Linked DNA regions of Homo sapiens: region 1 is linked to region 2. The links are contacts of gene promoters, found by promoter capture Hi-C in human tissues and cell types (Jung and others, 2019). All regions are on one chromosome and are shown on one strand. Each heading gives the region's core, a stretch centred on a gene start or on the middle of the fragment in contact. The rest is flanking DNA. Distances are from core to core; before and after follow the strand shown.

Region 1 (3,442 bases), core at 15-2,514, 540 kb after region 2:
ATGTTGTGTTTGGAAATAGAGAAGAGTGTGGGAGGTGAATGCTAGGATTTTACACTGAAAGAGGTGCAGATGAGGGGGAAGAAGTAGGCTGGAGCAAATTGAAAGTGATGTCTGCTATAATTAGTTAAGAGAAAATATGAATGTAAGGTTCAATGTATGAAGTTTTTTTTTTTCTTTTTCTTTTTTTTTTTTTTTTTTTAGACAGTCTTGCCCTGTTGCCCAGGCTGGAATGCAATGGCATGACCTTGGCTCACTGCAACCTCTGCCTCCCAGATTCAATCAATTCTCCTGCCTCAGCCTCCCGAGTAGCTGAGCCTCCCGCCACCATGCCTGGCTAATTGTTGTATTTTTAGTAGAGACAGGGTTTCACCGCGTTGGTCAGGCTGGTCTTGAACTCCTGACCTTGTGGTCTGCCCACTTCAGCCTCTCAAAGTGCTGGAATTACAGGCGTGAGCTACTGAGCCCAGCCACAAGGTATGAAGTTTTTCTAGACATGTAAAAGTGAGCATGCACTTGGGCAAAAACGAGAGTCATCCAAAAATGAAAACATAAGATTTAATTTCAGGATGGGAGTCTATGTCATCTTCTATTTGAATTTTCTGTTATTTCCTGAGTTCCAACTTTTTTCCACTCCAGATAATTCATACTATAATATTTCCATAAACCTGGCTCACAGAATAAAAGTTTGAAAAATAAGTTTATTTCAATAATCATTAGAAAAATTATAGTCGGGCACGGTGGCTCATGCCGGTAATCCCAGCACTTTGGGAGGCCGAGGCTGGCAGATCACGAGGTCAGGGATTCGAGACCAGCTGATCAACATAGTGAAACCCCGACTCTACTAAAAGTACAAAAATTAGCAGGGCGTGGTGGTGCGCGCCCATAATCCCAGCTACTCAGGAGGCTGAGGAAGGAGAATTGCTTGAACCTGGGAGGCAGAGGTTGCAGTGAGCCAAGATCGCACCACTGCACTCCAGCCTGGGCGACAGAACGAGACTCTGTCTCAAAAAAAAAAATTATGGAAGTGAAAAATTGTGCAAAAATGAGTGTGTACCAACTTTCTGTCAGAGCTTCACCTTAATCATCTAATAAGAAAGCAAACAAAAGATAAACTGTATAAGCATGCCAACAATAATCTTTATTTCTGCCATGTTTTACCCTTTAATATTCAGAAGAAAAGTCATACAGGAGGAAAATTTTATAACTATAGTAAATATAGACAACTTGAACAACACTAGATCTCTACTGGCCAAAAGGAAAAAACAAAAAACAACCCCCAGTATATCCCTAAATGTACACCAGAGAATCTTAAAAGATAAAATAATTTGGCCAGGCACGGTGGCTCCCGCCTGTAATCTCAGCACTTTGGGAGGCCGAGGTGGGCGGATCACGAGGTCAGGAGATCGAGACCATCCTGGCTAACACGGTGAAATTCCATCTGTACTAAAAATACAAAAACAAAATTAGCCAGGCATAGTGGCGGGGGTCTGTAATCCCAGCTACTCCAGAGGCTGAAGCAGGAGAGTGGCATGAACCCAGGAGGCGGAACTTGCAGTGAGCAGAGATCGCACCACTGCACTACAGCCTGGGCAACAAAGCAAGACTCAAAAAAAAAAATAAAATAATTCATGTGATTATAATAAATTTGAGAAAAACTTCTTTTATAGCTCTTGCCTTTCTCAAAGGGGGAGGACTCATCCTGGAGAGAAACCCCATGGATGTATTCAACATGGTAAATCTTTTTGATGGAGCTCTCACCTAGTTGCACATCACAACTTATACCAGATAGAAAATTTATGAATGTAATCAATGTGGAAAGTTTTTCAGCCTGGTGCTCCCACCTTGTTAGACGTATACTGAAGACTCTGGGAACATCGGGAACGTCAGAGAGCTTTCAGCAGGAGATCTCATCTAATTGGGCAATAGAAAACTCATACTGAAGAAAAACAATTCCATGTAATCAATGTGAGAAATATTTCAGTGACATCCTTGATTTTAATTGGCATCAGGGAAAGTGTAATAGAGAGAAGCCTTATGAATGTAGTCAAGGTAGGAAATCTTTCTATACAGCTCTGGCCTTGTTGCACATAAAATAACTCATACTGGAAAGAAGCTTCGTGACTGTAATCAGTGTTGGAAATGGTTCAGTTAGAGTTCTCACTTGTTGCTCATCAGATAAATCATACCGGTGAGAAACTGCGAGTGTCCTGAGTGTAGGAAATCAGCTGGAGCTGATTACTTATATGGCATCAGAGATTTCACATTAGAGAGAAACCTCATGAATGTCACTGGTGTGGAAAATCCCGCAGCAAGAATTCTCACCTTATTGAACAGCAAATAACTCATTCTGGAGAGAAGCCTATAAATGTAGTCAACGTGGAAAAACTTTCAGACAGAATTATTATTGTGTATGCACCAAAAAATTCATATGGGCAAAAGCCAACATGAATGTCTAAATGTGAAAAAGCCTTCAGGAGACTATCTGACCTTATGGAACACCAGATCATTCATAATAGAGAGAAACTGTATGCATATAATCAGTGCAGAAAGGCCTTTCAGGCAGCATTCTAATCATGTCAGGCACCAGATAACTCATTCTTGAGTCAAACTGTTAATGAACTTTTTATTTATTTTATTTTATTTTTGAGATGGAGTCTCGCTCTGTTGCCCAGGCTGGAGTGCAGTGGCGTGATCTCGGCTCACTGCAAGCTCCGCCTCCTGGGTTCACGTCATTCTCCTGCCTCAGCCTCCCAAGTAGCTGGGACTACAGGTGCCCGCCACCATGCCCGGCTAATTTTTTGTATTTTTTTTTTGAGATGGAGTCTCCCTGTTGCCCAGGCTGGAGTGTGGTGACACAATCTCAGCTCACTGCAACCTCCACCTCCCGGGTTCAAGCTATTCTCCTGCCTCAGCCTCCCGAGTAGCAGGGATTACAGACACACACCACCATGCCCAGCTAATTTTTTTGTATTTTTAGTAGAGACGGGGTTTCACCATGATGGCCAAGCTGGTTTTGAACTCCTGACCTCAAGTGATCCGCCCGCCTCGGCCTCCCAAAGTGCTAGGATTACAGGCGTGAGCCACCGTGCCCGGCCTAATTTTTTGTATTTTTTAGTGGCGACGGGGTTTCACCATGTTAGCCAGGATGGTCTCGATCTTCTGACCTCGTGATCCACCTGCCTTGGCCTCCCAAAGTGCTGGGATTACAGGCGTGAGCGACCGCACCTGGCCAATGAACTTTTTAAATTGAGACAGGGTTTCACTCTGTCATCCAGGCTGGAGTATAGTGGCAAGATCATCACTCCCTGCAGCCTCAACCTCTTGGTCTCAAGTGATCTTCCAACCTCAGCCTCCCAAAGTTCTGGGGTTACAGGTGTGAGGCATTGTGCCCAGCCATAACTTTTAAAAGATTTTCTTCCCTTTTATTTAGACATCAAGGTAA
Region 2 (3,179 bases), core at 433-2,932:
AGAGCAAGACACTGTCTCAAGAACAAAAACAAAAAAGCCCAGGCGCAGTGGCTCACCTGAGGTCAGGAGTTCAAGACCAGCCTGGCCAACATGGTAAAACCCTCGCTCTACTGAAAATACAGAAATTAGCCGGGCATGGTGCTGGCGCCTGTAGTGCCAGCCACTTGGGAGGCTGAGGCAGAAGAATTGCTTGAACCTGGGAGGTGGAACTTGTGGTGAGCCAAGATCAAGCCATTGCACTCTAGCCTGGGCAACAGAGTGAGACTCCGTCTGGGAAAAAAAAAAAAAAAAAGAACTGATAAACAAATTCACCTGTGTAGCTGAATTCAAAGTCAACATGCAAAAGTCAACATGTAAAACTCATATGCCCTTCCATACACTAACAATGAAAAATCTGAAAAGGAAATTAAGAAAACAATATCATTTGCAATAGTAATGTATATGGTCAAATGATCTCAACAAGGCTACCAAGACCACTCAATGGGGAAACGATGATCTTTTCAGCAAATGATGCTGGGAAAATGAAATATTCACATGCTAAGGAATGAAGGTGAACCCTTACCTAACACCAAAAACACAAATGAACTCAAAATGGACTAAAAACCTAAACATAAGACCCAAAACTATAAAACACTTAAAAGAAAATATAGGGTGAAAGTTTTATGACATTGAATTTGGCCATAATTTCTTGGATTTGACACCAAATACACATGTGACAAAAGAAAAATAGACCAATTAGACTTCATGAAAATTAAAACTTTAGTATATCAAACAATAACAAAGTGAAAGAGGAACCTATTTAATGAGAACAAAATACAGGTTGAATATCCCTGAGCCAAAAATCTAAAATCCAAAATGCTCCAAAATCCAAATTTTTTTTTTCTTTTTTTTTTTTTGGAGACGGAGTCTCCCCCTGTCGCCCAGGCTGGAGTGCAATGGCGTGATCTCGACTCACTGCAACCTCTGCCTCCCAGGTTCAAACGATTCTCCTGCCTCAGCCTCCCAAGTACTGGGATTACAGGCGCTCGCCACCATGCCCGGCTAATTTTTGTATTTTTAGTAGAGACAGGGTTTCACCATGTTGGCCAGGCTGGTCTCGAACTCCTGATCGCGTGATCCACCCACCTTGGCCTCCCAAAGTGCTGGGATTACAGGCGTGAACCACTGCGCCCGGCCCGCCCGACTAATTTTTGTATTTTTAGTAGAGATGGGGTTCCGCCATGTTGGCCAGCCTGGTCTCGAACTTCTGACCTCAGGTGATCCGCCCGCCTCGGCCTTCTAAAGTGCTGGGATTACAGGCGTGAGCCACCGCGCCCAACCCCCTGAAATAATATTTGTTTGCCTCTAGGGGCACCCTGAGCTTCGTGGAGTCTGAAATAATGTCTCTAAACACTTAAGTGATCAGTTACGGAAAACACTTCCCAGAAATCTGGGAAAAGCCCCTTTAAGAAGGAGTAAATACCTCCTTCTCCCCTAGAGGCCGAAGTCGCCATTTCCCTGCACGGGGCACAGCACCTCAGAATACAAGTTCGCAGAGGTCAAAGCAGTGGACACACTCCGAAGAGCTCCGTGGAGTTTTGGAAACTACATTATCCAGAGTGCAGAGCGCAAAACGGCGGCGGAGTTGAGCCAATGACAGCCCAGGATAGCAACACTTCCGCGCACGCGCAGCGCGACGGGCCGGAACTTCCGGCGTCCTCCTCGTGGCGGTCATTTTGGCCTCTGTCCTGTTTGTCCAGCCCGCCAGTTTCTGCAGTGGAGGTCGCGACTGAGGGACGGGACAGAGAAGTCGCGAAAGTGGGCCAGAGGTTCTGCGACACCACCTCGGGTGAGCTGCGCCAGGCCCGGGATAGGGACTGTTGTGTTCGAATGCCCGCCCCGGTCGGCCGCCGCTCCCCGCCTAGTCCACGGAGCTCAATGGCGGCAGTCGCGCTGAGGGACTCGGCTCAGGTGAGTTGTGCGTCCTCCGGGTCTCGCCTACCTCCCCCAGCAGAAGCCTTAAGGCCCAGTGAGGGATGCCTGCTCACAGCCCTGCAGCCCAGGCCCCAGTACCCTGGACAAGAAGGCGCTTGTGGATTGGACCCGTTTGTGACGCCCAGTGTGTACGGAAATGTGACGGGCAGTTGACTGGCGCGTGCAGAACTTGGAGCTGCGACTAAGCTGGGGGGGATTCAGGAGCCTGGGGTCCGTCTCGGGTCTGCAGGAACATAGAGTGAGGCAGAGTTGCACCTGACGAATTTGACGATTCTGAGGACACTGGCAGCCTTCGAGATTTGTGAACAGATAGGGACACTGGGCTAGGATTTCCTAAAGCTATCCAAAAGTTGCTCAGGGGAAGAACAGGCTGAAGAGAGGTAATAGTAGTTAGGCATAGGAAGACTGAGTTCTTGTCCAAGCTCACGCAGCTGGTAAAGTCAGCACTGAGAACTGAGGTGCGGAGATAGTGCAGCCAGCCCAGGCCACCTGGCTCCAAAACTGGACCAGGGTCATTGGGCGACCTGAGCCTCGCCACTCGTCTAGCCTTGGGCCCTGAGACTTTGAGCAAATACAAAGCCCAGAGTCTTAAGTCCAGGTTAGATTATATGAAGCTGTTGGCAGCCGGGGGAAAGGAGATGTAGAAGGTTGTCCAAGGCAAAGTTACCAGTATATGCTAAGTTTGGAGAGGAGGCTAAGATAGTTCAGGAACCTACAATTATTTTCTTTTCATGAGAACAGGGAGCAGTGTAGTAGAAGTCAGACCCGGAATGGTTCCCTGAGAAGTTGAGTTGTCTATTCGTTACTTAATAGTAACAGTGGGAGGTTTGGAGTGGAAGAGGGAGGTGATCTGGTTCTGGTCTTATTAGGCTCCCTGTGGCTGCAGCATGGGAAGCCAACTGAAGGATGAGGTGGGGAGACCTGGGAGGAGACTACTGGGATAGGCCAGGTGAATGTGATAGAATGTGATAGGCCAAAATGGTGGCTGTGAAGATGCGAGAAGCAGTTGGATTCTGGATTCATTTTTTAAGTAGGGCTGCCTGAATTTTTAGTTTTGAGAAAGAGAGTGGAGTCAGGGATGACTGAAAGGTTTTATTTTGGCAGTTAGAAGTGTGGAAGCTCCATCAACTAAGATGGGGAAGTACATAGTAGGAGTAGTTTTCATTTGGGATATCAGAAGTTTTATTTTTGACCTGCTAAGAGTA

Evidence for each region. The method cuts DNA at HindIII sites, captures the fragments that hold promoters and counts their contacts. A contact is called where the count stands out against the background at its distance.
Region 1: a fragment that was not itself captured here is called in contact with the fragment with the promoter of ZNF551 in region 2 in 1 of the 25 tissues and cell types used here (dorsolateral prefrontal cortex).

Annotation. Positions count from the first base shown.
Region 1 is chr19:58,222,859-58,226,300 of GRCh38, forward strand. It overlaps the pseudogene LOC100419847. Among named protein-coding and RNA genes, the nearest start is that of ZNF544, 4.3 kb to the right of the region's middle. The HindIII fragment of the contact is 6,243 bases long and covers 1-3,442 here.
Region 2 is chr19:57,680,295-57,683,473 of GRCh38, forward strand. It overlaps ZNF551 (zinc finger protein 551), which reads left to right and starts at 1,683. Exons shown (of 3, transcript NM_138347.5): 1 at 1,683-1,950. The coding sequence starts at 1,870. RefSeq lists an enhancer at 1,375-1,998 and a silencer at 2,054-2,123. The HindIII fragment of the contact is 9,267 bases long and covers 1-3,179 here.